2 separate regions of the Homo sapiens genome follow, and region 2 is linked to region 1. The links are contacts of gene promoters, found by promoter capture Hi-C in blood cells and fetal thymus (Javierre and others, 2016). All regions are on one chromosome and are shown on one strand. Each heading gives the region's core, a stretch centred on a gene start or on the middle of the fragment in contact. The rest is flanking DNA. Distances are from core to core; before and after follow the strand shown. Region 1 holds the start of HIPK1 (homeodomain interacting protein kinase 1). Region 2 overlaps TSPAN2 (tetraspanin 2).

Region 1 (6,362 bases), core at 2,134-4,633:
AATTCCGAGATGAGAAAAAGGCGATCCAGGCCAGGCATGGTGGCTCACGCCTGTAATCTCAGCACTTTGGGAGGCCGAGGCAGGTGGATCACTTGAGGTCAGGAGTCTGAGACCAGCCTGGCCAACATGGCAAAACCCTATCTCTACTAAAAATACAAATATTAGCCAGGCATGGTGGTGCGTGCCTGTAGTGCCTGTAGTCCTAGCTACTTAGGAGGCAGAGGTATGAGAATCACTTGAACCCACCACTGCACTCCAGCCTGAACCCACCACGGCACTCCGACCTGGGCGACAGGGCGAGATCTTGTCTCAAATAAAAAAAAAAAAAAAAAAAAACAGATCCAAAAAGGCCAAACGAGTTTTACCCAGCGCTAATGAGTAGCAATGCTGGCAAAGGTCTTCTCATTCTTTTTCCTTAAGCACTCTGGGAAAGCACTGTACCAGGTACCCTTAAAGAATCTAAAAGAAATGTAAGTTTCCTTACCTTCAAAAAACTTAAAATGTTGCTGAAATGATATAACACATGAAAAAGAAAGAAAAATATGAAAACAGGATGTAAATTTTTCAAGTGCCAAATTATGCACTACAGGAATATATTAGGCATTTAGGAGCTGGGTTCCAACAACTAAAGGGAAGATCAGGAACAAAAACAAAAGGAACCAAAAGACAAACCAGTGATTGTTGAAGTGGTACTTAAAGGAAAATAATCTTGATGACTTGTGTTCAGAATGGCACAAAGGGAGAGGAAGGGAAGATAACGGGAGGAATAATAGTAAATTTTTTTTAAAAAGACCTAAAAAATACAGACTGCTGTTATACACTCATGCAGGTGGCAGATCAAGCAGCTCATGTTTGCAAAATTACTTCAAATTACAAGACCAGTTACAATATATAACTAACAAGCTGCACAAGTTCCAAGTGTAAGAACTTTACAAGGCCGGTATGACTCACTGATTTGTACCAACAAATCATTGATGGAGCTGTGCTTATAAAAACAAAAGCACAGAATGAAAGAAGTTTATTTTCCAAAGAATTGTGAACTTTGAGATTATCTCTTCTTTTTTTTTCTTTTAGAAGGAAGTTCTGGTTTGGTTTGAAGTCTCAAGTTACCAACGAACTTGCTCAAAAAACCACAAAACTACAGTGTCGAGAGATAAACTATTCATGAAGGTATCACCAGCAAAAGTTCTACTTGCCAACCAGAGCCAGTATATTTATAAGATCTCATTCACCATTTTATTCTAAGATACTTTACTGGCTTGGCTGCCTCCAGTTCCAACCGCAAGTACTTTACTAAAATATCTTTCAAGCCAGGAACAGTATCTTAAAGTCAATGCCACCCTTCATCATAACAGTATTATAACACAGAACCCTGAGATAATTACATGTAAAGATCCAAAATCACCAGCTGAATAATGAAAATTAGGTCAAATGATTTGTTAGATTTTAAAATGTTTTATAGAAAGCTTTAGGCTTCCATATGAAAAAAGCTAGTAATAGTTTGCATTCTCTATAATCTTACAAAAAAAAAAAAAAAACCCACAGACCAGAGATCAAAAATAGCTTTACACAAACAAAAGGAAAATTGTAGGTTTGCTGAGGGCATCAGCCACTTAATTTAACCCTATTTCATCAAGAGCGGGAAGCCACACTGCTGTTTTCACCAGTTACTAAGAAACAAGATAAAGGACAGATTGGGACAGAGAGTCTATAGCTGAAAGTATTATGTTGATGCAATTACTGAGAATTCCCAAAGTGTCACTAATAGACAAGAAAGAGCATCTAGGACTGCCTCTAAATGAGTCTACCTACAACAGAATCAGTGATTAAGTAAAGAAAAGACTTACTGGAGCTTGGGGGTTTTCCCCCCCTCTTCCCTACCCGCATCCTCCCATCCTGAACCCCCCTCCCCAAGTAGGAAAGAAAGCTCGCCCAGCATAAACACAGGCCATTGCTCACAGCTCGTCACCACAACAAACTGGAGGTTAGACCAACGCTCCTGGAGACGGAACTCCACGTCTTGGTTGCTAAGCACAAAAAGGGGACTCTTCCCCACAGACCTGTGAACAGTGTGGGCCTTACCAGAATTTTGGTTGTTTCTCCACCTTCCCCCTCCCTTTTGTTTTTTTAACGAAAGCTTTGAAAGTGGTGGCAGCAAAAGTTTCCCTTTGGGCCAGACCTCTAGATCTCCCTTGTACAGATATACATTAGGTGGGCTGGTCTCACGTAGTCTCCACCGTCATTACGAATTACAAGCCTAACGACTACAGAACATCAGCGGAGACGACAGAAAAGCTTCCACACCCACCCCACTGTCGTCCTCTCCAGGCACGGCTTCCTGGTCCCAAACAGCACAAATAACCCAAAACCATGGTGATAAGCGGAGCTGTGAAGTACACACGCACAAGCCACACACTGGGAACCTGCCACGACAGCCGGGGAAAAAACCGGCCGAGTGAGGAGACGCAAGGCGGTCCCCTGTCACTTAAGGACAACACGCCCAGGCGAGAAGTGGCAGGAGGCAGGGGGAGTTGCCCCGAAAACCAGCCCGGAGCCTCCCCACCTTCCTGGGAAGGCAATCCCCTCAGCGGCAGTGAGCGGCCGGGCCGCAAGACGCGGCGCCCGGTCCCAGGCAGGGGCCCTTTGAGGAAGGCGCCCCCGGCAGGCTGGGCGCTCCAGGAGAGCCGGCGGCCGGCCCGGCCCCGCCTCAGGGAGCTGAGGGGAAGTCGCTCCCCGCCGAGGACCCCTCCTGCCCGTCCCCACTCACCGCCGGTGTGTCTGGTTCTCAGCCGCGAGCTGGGGCTGCCGTGAGGAGGCGGCGGAGGAGACGAGATCTGGGGCCCCGCAGCCGGGTCATCATACCCCCCGCGCGAGCCGGCCCGGGCCCCGGCCCCCGCCCCCCGGAGCCGTCCCCGCGCCCGTCCCGCAGGGGGAGCCTCCTCAGCCTCCCTCCCGCTCCACCACCCAGCCCCTTCCCGCCGCCGCCGCCGCCGCCTCAGCCCCGCGCGCTCCCGCCTCGGCCTCCTGCTGCCGTCCGGGGCTACCGCCGGGCCCCTTGCTCCGCAGCCGCCGTTGTCGCCAGACCCGACGAACGGAATGCCGAGCGGCCGTCCCTCAACCCGGCCGGCCCCGCCTCGCCGGAACTATTCACCCGCCCCGCGCCATGACACCTACTGAGGCGGAAGTGCAGCTGAATGGACTCTCTAGGACGATCGCATAGTACTGATTGCAGTAGGAGTCGGTGGGCCTCGAGTAGGTGGGCCTCCGTAGGGAGCCAGCGTGGATCGAGTGCGGGGCCTGGACTTCCCGCCCCCTCCGCACTGCAGACTCTGCGGTGATTTAAAGGTGCCTGGCGGTGGTACGGGATCCAACTGTAAAATGTCATCCCAGCTAGTGTGACATCACCACAGTTTAGTGTGACACCCCCAGAGCTTGGGCAGTGTACGGGACGACAGTGCCTAGCAGAGGAGCTTCACTGCCGGTGAGGGATTACCTCAGGTTAGGCTTTAATGTTTCGTTGCCGTCTAGAGACGTTCTAGCAATGTGACATCTGTGTACCATATCTGGAAGTCTCCCTGTACGTCAAGAGCCCCTTAGGGGAGTCTCCCATTGCCGCCGTGGGAACCTGTGTTTACATTACGAGGAGAGAGAATAGCTGTACTCTGAACTCAAACGCTCAAAACATGCAGTGAGCGAATGCTAGCATAATTTTCTTGCCTCTACCAGAAGGAAGGCTGGGTATTTAGGAAACAGAACGCGTTGGGCACAACATTCTGAGAAAATGGACACAGAAAATTAGGTTATCCTAATAGAAAAGCAGTTGCATCTCCCAAAGTCAAGAGATTCTGTAGGACTTCCGATGTATCTCCTGCTGTGTAAAATATTCAGGTTCCTGAAGTGGGGGACATTTTTAGGGCAACTGTAATTTCTTCATTTTTTCCATCCCACAAGTGCTGGAGGCAGCAGTGATCTGAGCTCTAGAAAGTGACTGTCCGTCACCATCGGTATTTGCATATACTCTGTGAGGAGAAGGGCAGTTGTGGCTAAGACAAAATTCTACTATCAAGTTTTGTTTCTCAAATCTCACTCATTAACATCTTTGATTTCCTTGGATCCCCATAACACACACAGAAAACTATGATTTGTGTAAAATGCGCTGAAGTACCTTTTAAGGGAAGTCATTTGGCTTTCTCTCTGGCTTAACAACACGGGGAGCAGTTCCATTTTATCTGGAACAGGGAAGTTTATTTCCCTAGAGAACTAGGGTTACCAAAAATGTTCGATCCCACAAGGCAGTTTTGTTTGCATATTTTCACAGAAACTTCCTTCTACTACTTAAAGTCCTCACATTGGGCTGACCTGGGAAACATGAAGATAAAAAGAGTGGGTAAACATGCCTGCTTGATGAGCCAGAAAAAAAGGCAGAAACCTGTGGTCTGGGTAGAACAGATCCTGCTCAGAATGTAAGCTTCAAACATGTTTATCATGCCTTGGTTCAACCTAACTCTCTGACATGTTCCTAAACTCCTGCTCTCTCAAGTTATGTCCCTTTCCTCTTTTCAAATATCTCTCAGAATTCACCCTTTCGGGAACCTTTGCTGATTGACTCCTATTTTATTTGAATTCTGCATCATCATCTGATTACTTAAATTAACCTGTACCTTCTTTATTTATACTTGTTAACTTCTATTTTCATTGCTCTTAGGTCCTCAGTCTTTCTCACTATACGGAGAGCTTCTTAAAGTCTGTATTTTCTCCTCTTTAGTATCATTCACTCATTCATCCAGCAAACTGCTTGTGTGCCTGCTCTGTGCTATACACTCTTCTAGACACTGGGTCAGGTATGAATGAGACAGGTGAATAAAGCATGGTCTTTTCCCTCAGGGACCTTACAGTCTAATGAGGAAAAAACGTGTGCAGACATATATAAGATAAGTGAGAGAGTCGGAGAAGAACATCAGAAGTGATATTTGAGCATAGTAAGGTCAAAGAAGTTTCAAAGTTTAGTCATTTGTCCATTCAGTAACTATTTATAGAGCATCTTCTGTGTGCTAGGCACTATATAAGAAATTAAGGGGCTGGGTGTGGTGGCTCATGCCTGTAATCCCAGCACTTCGGGAGGCTGAGGCAGGTGAATCACCTGAGGTCAGGAGTTCGAGACCAGCCTGGCCAACATGGTGAAACCCCGTCTCTACTAAAAATACAAACATTAGCCAAGTGTAGTGGCGCATGCCTGTAATCCCAGCTACCCTGGAGGCTTAAGCAGAAGAACCGCTGGAACCCAGGAGAAGAAGGCTACCATGAGCCGAGATTGCACCATTGCACTCCAGCCTGGGCGACAGTGAGACTCTGTCTCAAAAAAAAAAAAAAGAAAGAAAGAAAGAAATAAAAAAAAAAGAAATTAAGGATACACAGAAGAAAAGGCATGGTCTGTGCCCTGAAGGAGCTTACAGTTAAGCAGAGAAGTTGCACGATTTGGAAGTAGTAAGGTAAATTGAGTCAGATTTTGAAAGGCAATGTAGAGCTGTTAGAAGTTTATTCGCACAGGTAGCCAGGCACAGTGGCTCATGCCTGTAATCCCAGCACTTTGGGAAGCCAAGGTGGCAGATCACTGGAGGTCAGGAGTTCAAGACCAGCCTGGCCAACACAGTGAAACCCCATCTCTACTACAAATACAAAAATTAGCCAGATATGGTGGCATATGCTTGTAATCCCAGCTACTCGGGAGGCTGAGGCAGGAGAATCGCTTGAATCCGGGAGGCAGAGGTTGCAGTGAGCCGAGATCGTGCCACTGCAGTCTAGGCTGGGCAAACAGAGCCAGACTCTGTCTCAAAAAAGAAGTTTATTCAGACAGGTAATGTGAGAGAGAACTAGTGATGGTGAAGGAAGAGGGCTAGCTGGAGTGGGTAAAGACTGGAGAAAGGGATCCTAATCAGAAAACTATGATGAGGGTTTGATTACACAGGAAAGAAGGCGAGAAGGGGCAGATATGTGAAATACATCCTCCTAAACCAAGTCAGAGCAACTGGAGAGGGAGGTGGAGCAGTTAGCAATCGGAAGCATTCAAGTTTCATTCAGGGTATGACATCCTTCTAGGGCCTACAGCCTAGATTCAGTGTTGCAGGCAAGAAGTCATTTGCCCAAGAGCGGCAGTGCTTAAGGCCAAATAGGAGAAGCTGATGAGAAGGCTGTGTCTTGAGAGAAGCTGAACCAAAAAGCTAGGCAAACTATTCAAACAAATAGTGAATCCTAGGGGCTAGGAAAAAAAAGAGAATTTAAATAGAAGCCAACAGGTTGTGAAACTGGGAAAACCAGATTAGAGTGAAGGTCTGCAGTAAACGATAAAAAGCAGAAAAGTCCCT
Region 2 (6,362 bases), core at 2,817-5,316, 1.1 Mb before region 1:
TGGCAGGAGTGACGCTGGCAGAGGAGGGCTTGGGTTGCTCCGTGTTGCCTAGACCTTGTCCACGCTAGTCTCTTTCAGGGCACTCTTGGGAGAAGCCCCCGTGTCTTCCAAATTCCAGCAACCTGCCCATCTGACTTCCTGTTACAGTCCCTCTCTGGAGTGGGCAGACACCCCAGGGGTCTTCTTTCTAGAGTTACAGAGTAGGGAGCGAGCCCCTCAGCCCTTGGAAAACTGGAGAGACTGTGTGCTTGGTGCATGAAGTCATGTCTGTGAGCAGAGGATATTAACAGGTTTTCTCCAAGAAGGGGTTGCCCACACACGCAGGAGCCACTCGGCTCTCCAGGATCGCAGCCTGACTGCAGCTGTCTCTCCCTGTGGAACTCAGAGTCTCCAAGCCTGGCTCTGATTGTGGCTGGATGTTATGTATAAGGAAAGCATTCCAGTGCCGAACACCAAGGGGGTGGCTTGGCTTGTTAAAAACTCTGACTCACGCTGGTCATATTTTTTTACTTGGTTTTCACTTGTACCTGACATCCATGGTAGCTGTATACCAGAGAGGTGTTGTAGCTTACATTGTTGAGACAATTTCTCCAGAGCATTTTTATAAGAAGTTGGAATAGACAATCATTTCCATATTGCAGCTAACGAAACTGAAGGGTAGGAAGACTTACCTCAAGCCATAGTTGGCAGGCCTGGATTTCTGGCTCCCAGCCCTGTACTTTCAGAGGAAAAACCAGGAATCATCAATTCTAGACATCTCAAGTACTTTTCTCAAGGGAGAAGAAAAATAACTCTACTGCCATTTATAAATTGCAAAATGAACCAATTTCTAGCTAAGAGCATTGTTGTTCTTCACAGTTACTGCTAAAACGAAAGCATAGGGGTTCAGGGACTGCACTTTGGAGTAGGCTCCCCTAGGTTCAGTTCCAATTTTTCCCCTCACAAGCTATGCAATCTTACATAAATTATTTAATTTCTTGGTGTCTCAGATTCTTCAGCTGTGAAATATGAACATATTTAAGCATAGTATCTGTTCTGTGGTGAGCCCTCAGTAAATATTGGCTATTGTTATTACAGATCGAGCATCCCTAATCTGAAAATCCAAAATCCAAAATTCCCCCACATCCAAAACCTTTTGAGCACTATCCTGACTCTCAAAGGAAATGCTCATTGGATAATTTCAGATTTGGGATTTTCGGATTAGGAATGCTCAACCAGTGTAATGCAAACATTCCAAAATGTGAAAACATCCTAAATCTGAAACACTTGCCCTTCCCAAAAACTAAGTTGCATTCAATATTCTAGATATTTGCATTATTATATGCATTCAGGGGATACTGAAGGGACATAAATGTAGGGACATAAAAAAATTTCAAATAAAAAAATGGTCATTAGCAGATTATGTAAAACCATCTGCTGCTAGAAAGCCATTAAAATTGATGACCACGTCCAGTCCCTAAAAGGGGGGAACCACATTTTTAAGTGAGTTTATCCCAGTAGGCCGTTAGGAGGTTCTCTCTCATTTTTATGTTAACTAAAATGATGTTTCTAGCTTAAAAGAAGACTCTGAAACCTAAGAAAAGAGTGATGGAATTGCCTGGGAACATGTTCCATATCTTACCCCAGCTAGAATGACTATTATCAAAGGGAGAAAGAATAGCAAATGCTGGCAAGGATCTGGAGAAAGGGGAAGCCTCGTACACTATTGGTGGGAATATAAAGTAGTACAGCCACTATGGAGAACAGTATGGCAGTTCCTCAAAAAATAAATATAGAGCTATCATCCAGCATTCCCACTGCTGGGTATATATCCAAAAGAAAGGAAATCAGTAAATCAAAGAGACATCTGCACTCCCATGTTTATTGCAGCACTTTTCATAATAGCCAACATATGGAGTCAACCTAAGTGTCCATCAGCAGATGGATGGATGAAGAAAATGTGGTACATATACACAATGGAATATTACTCAGCCATAAAAAGAAAGAAATCCTGTCATTTGTAGCAGCATGGATGGAACTAGAGGCCATTGTGTTAAGTGAAACAAGCCAAGCACAGGAAGAGCAGATATCACATGATCTCACTCATGTGGGAACTGAATAAGTGGATCTCATGGAGGCCGAGGGTAGACTGATGGTTACTGGAGGCCGCAGAGTGTAGGGGGTTGGGGAGATAAAGAGAAGCTGCTTAATGGGTACAAAAATACAGTTAAATAGAAGGAAGAAATTCTTGTATTCTATAGAACAGTAGGAAAATTATATTTAGCAATAATTTTTATATATTTCAAAGTAGCTAGGTGAGAAGAATTGTAACTTCCCAACACAAAGATAAATGTTTGAGGTGATGGATATCTCAGTGACACTGATTTGATCCTTACACATTGTATACATGCATTGAAATAGCATATGTACCCCCAAAATGTGTACAACTATTATGTATCAGTAAGATATTAATAAATAATTTTAAATACTTTTTAAATTTTTAAAAATGAAGGTGTCCCAGGGAAAGTACTTGTGGTAGCATGTCACAGAGATCACTGGCATCCCAAAGGCCAGCTATTCATGATGAAAATGTAATTTCAAAATGTTTTCTATTTTTCAAATCAAAGGCAATAGGACTCGGAAAGCATGAGGGCTTTGGGAAGTAGGTCGTATGTTTGTCACACCTGCTCCTGTGGGAAGGAGAAGGCTCTACAGTAACCATCTTGGAATTTAAAATGTGGCTGTAAATTAATTATTACATTCAGCAGCTATTTTTTGAGGGTCAGACCATAAGAAGGATAAAGTATCCTTGGAAGCCACAGGTGGCCTTATGGCATGCGGAGTATTAGAGCCAGATTTGGAACTGGATCCGGCACGCCCAGGGAACCTTTCCTCTTGTAGAATTTCTTCTGCTTTTCCCTTCAGCTTCAGCAAGCAATGTTCATTTGGAGCTGGGCTGAGTCACGGGCCCACACATACAAAACAGAGGCTGGCTGAGAAGTGGCCTCAAAGTTGAAGCTGCTAGGGCAGCTTCAGGTTGTTTTTGCCGTGAGCTCTGGGATTCTGATAGCCTAAGAATGAAATATTGTTCAAAAAAGCACACTTTCCTGAAAAGCTCATTATTTCAGAAGGATAAGGATTGTTGCCTGAGGGAGCAGACAGTTTCATTTACAGTGGGGAACAACTCTGGCCTCCTCAAACCTCTGTGCCCCTGTCCAGTGAGCCTCCTGCCTCCTCACGAGCCTCCCTCTTTCACATATTCCAGGGTGTCTCGGGGTGCGAAGCAACCATCCTCATGTGCTTGGCTTTGGAGAGCACAGCTATGTAGTTGCTTTGTGGATGTTTGCTGAGACCTGTTTCCAGCATATATCTCTAAGCAAAGATGGGTGATGACAGCCAGCAAGCCTGGAACTGATTTGATTTTCTCTGTCTTATCTACTAATCCAATGCACACTGACTAAGAATTCTGCCTTGTGCAGGGCATGTTCTAGAGAGGATGAATAAGGTTTGTCAACTTGAAATCTATAATGAGAGACTAATATGAGAACCTGCAAAAGCACAAAATGGAAAAGAGCAGGACACAGCCAGATCATGGTGAATTCCCAGGTGGCTGGAGCATAGGATGGATAAAGATTTTGGGGGAAACTGTTCTGTAGGCTGTGACTTCATGATAGATCTGCAAACGGCATCATGTAGCAATTGTGGCAGTAGCAATGAGAGGCAATGGGCATGTTCTGCAGCAAGGGGGTCCACCAGGAGACATTCCATGAAGGAACTGAATATGGTGTTGTTGCTGCCGCCCTGCATTCAGCTCGCTTCTGTGGGGTGGTCAAATAGAAGTGTGGGATGGGAATTGGGGCTGCAGGCCAGGGCATCCTGCCTACAGCCATCTTGACTCTCAGACCTCCATTTGTAAAACAGAAATAATAGTCCTTGCTTACCTAACCACGTTGTTTTGAGAAGCCAATAAGATGATGGAAGTGAGAGCTTTGAAAACATTGCAACACAGTGAATGACTTTTTTTTTTCTTTTTCAACTTTCATTTTAGAATCAGGGGGTACATGGGCAGGTTTGTTACAAAGGTACATTGAGTGATGCCGAGATTGGGGGTATGACTGAACCTGTCACTGAGGTAATGAATATAGTATCCAATAGTTAGTTTTTCAACACCTGTGCCCCTCTAGTAGTCCCCAGTATCTATCATTCCCATCTTTATGTCCATGTGTACCCAATATTTAGCTCCTACTTATAAGTGAGAACATGCGGTATTTGATGTTCTGTTCCTGTGATAGTTTGCTTAGGATAATGGCCTCCAGCTGCATTCATGTTGCTGCAAAGGGCATGATTTTGTTCTTTTTTATGGCTGCATAGTATTCCATGGTGTATATGTACCACATTTTCTTTATCCTATCTACCATTGATGGGCACCTGGGTTGATTCCATACCTTTGCCGTTGTGAATAGTGCTGCAGTGAACATGTACCCTTTTGACAGAATGACTTATTTTCCTTTAGGTATTTACCCAGCAATGGGATTGCCGGGTCGAGTGGTAGTTCAACTCAGTTGTTTGAGTCATCTCCAAACTGCCTTCTGCAGTGGCTGTACTGATTTACATTCGCAACATTGTATAAAGTGTCCCCTTTACTCCCAGCCTTGCCAACATCTGTTATTTTTGACTTTTTAACAAAAGCCATTCTGACTGGTATGAGATGGTATCTCATTGTGGTTTTGATTTGCATTTCTCTGATGATTAGAGATGACGAGCATTATTTCATGTTTGTTGCTCGCTTGCATGTCTTCTTTGGAGAATTGTCTGTTTATGTCTTTTGCCCACTTTTTAATGGAGTTATTTGCCTTTTGCTTGTTGATTTGTTTAAGTTCCTTACAGATTCTGGATATTAGACCTTTGGTGAAAGACATTTTTAAAACAATAAAGTGTTGAGGTAGTGGGGCCAACAACACTATTATTTTTAATATGATATCATTTCTCACATTACCACATCCATTCCCTCATGAAATTATTCTTTTAGAGAAAAGGGAAAGGGAGGAGGTGGTAGAGCTAGAACAGCAGGAAATAAATACCCACCTCAGGACTGCAGAGCAGCAAGGCCTCAGGGCCCTGAAAAGAACGCTGAGGCCAGGTCCGGGTGGGGCAGGAAGCAGAGCAGCCTCGCCTGTGGCTCCTACTAGGTCTGTAAACTGCCAGATCTGCCCGCAAACCACCATCAGCAACCCAGAGGCGCCCCAGGAAGCACCCTGAATGCCAGGCCCAGGGGTTCCCCACAGAGGCGGGGCACCAGCCCCCACCCTCCCTATTAATGGGAGTGGTTTCCAGGTGACTCATATGAGTAAAATGCAAAAAATGAAATAGAGACCATTAACATGATTCCAAGTAAGACAAGTGCCAAGTCCCATATTGTATTCTAACTTATCTCAGGATCAGAGAAGGAAATACAAAAAGGCTTGGCTTTAGTTCTCTCAGAACCAGAGCATTTCTGTCCTTTTCTTTCTCTGTAAGAACTGTACGTGGGGCTTGCCTAAGCAGTAAGTGAAATCCCCACCTGAATGATGGCTGCCTCCATCACTAGAGATGCAAGACAGAGTCGGAGTGTTGGGCAGGCTTTTGAGGCTCATGGCTATTTTTCTCCCGGCTCTGCCAAACACCAGCTCTATGACCTTAAGCAAATCGCTTTACCTTTTGGGGCCCAGTTCCTCCGTGTCAAACATGGCAGTAAGAATAGCACCTCCTTTTGGTACTATTAGAATGCTCTGCAGTGCCCAGAGTCTTAAGCCTAGTTGGTCGTGGAGGCACTCGGTTGGCTCTCAGTGGTCTCCTCTGACCTCTTCCCCACAGGGCTGTATGTTCTGGTTGGAGCCGGGGCCCTGATGATGGCCGTGGGGTTCTTCGGGTGCTGCGGAGCCATGCGGGAGTCGCAATGTGTGCTTGGATCAGTAAGTGGGGCGAGGGGGTAAATGGTGGGGTGGGGGTGAGGGAGCGGCCTGCATCTGAAGGGAGTCAGTGCCTCTGGCCCCTGGCTCCAGCTCCTCCGTGGACTCTCTGAGCCCTTGGCATGCACTTTTCCTCCCTCAGTCTTGGTTTCTCCATCTCTTATATATGAATAATACTAACTAGGGCCGGGTGCCATGACTCACGCCTGTAATCCCAGCACTTTGGGAGGCTGAGGCAGGAGGATCTCTGGAGCCCAGGAGTTTAAGACTAGCTTGGGCAACACAGGGAGACCTAGTCTCTACCGGGTGTGATGGCACACACCTGTGGTCCCAGCTACTCAGGAGGCTGAGGCAGGAGGATCACTTAAGACCAGGAGTTGGGAGGCTGCAGTGAGCCATGACTGTACCACTGCACTCCAACCTGGGCGACAGAGC

The links. The method cuts DNA at HindIII sites, captures the fragments that hold promoters and counts their contacts. A CHiCAGO score of 5 or more calls a contact.
Region 2: a contact is called between a fragment that was not itself captured here and the fragment with the promoter of HIPK1 in region 1, in 1 of 17 cell types (naive CD8 T cells). The highest score is 6.0, in naive CD8 T cells.

Annotation. Positions count from the first base shown.
Region 1 is chr1:113,926,345-113,932,706 of GRCh38, reverse strand. It overlaps HIPK1 (homeodomain interacting protein kinase 1), which reads right to left and starts at 3,383. Exons shown (of 16, transcript NM_198268.3): 1 at 3,175-3,383. HIPK1-AS1 (HIPK1 antisense RNA 1) reads left to right here and starts at 3,182. Exons shown (of 3, transcript NR_110726.1): 1 at 3,182-3,345; 2 at 4,319-4,463. RefSeq lists silencers at 2,653-2,962, 2,983-3,032 and an enhancer at 3,153-3,472. The HindIII fragment of the contact is 2,173 bases long and covers 2,298-4,470 here.
Region 2 is chr1:115,061,703-115,068,064 of GRCh38, reverse strand. TSPAN2 (tetraspanin 2) reads left to right here. Exons shown (of 8, transcript NM_005725.6): 3 at 5,833-5,930. Among named protein-coding and RNA genes, the nearest start is that of TSPAN2, 25 kb to the left of the region's middle. RefSeq lists an enhancer at 5,210-5,733. The HindIII fragment of the contact is 8,678 bases long and covers 1-6,362 here.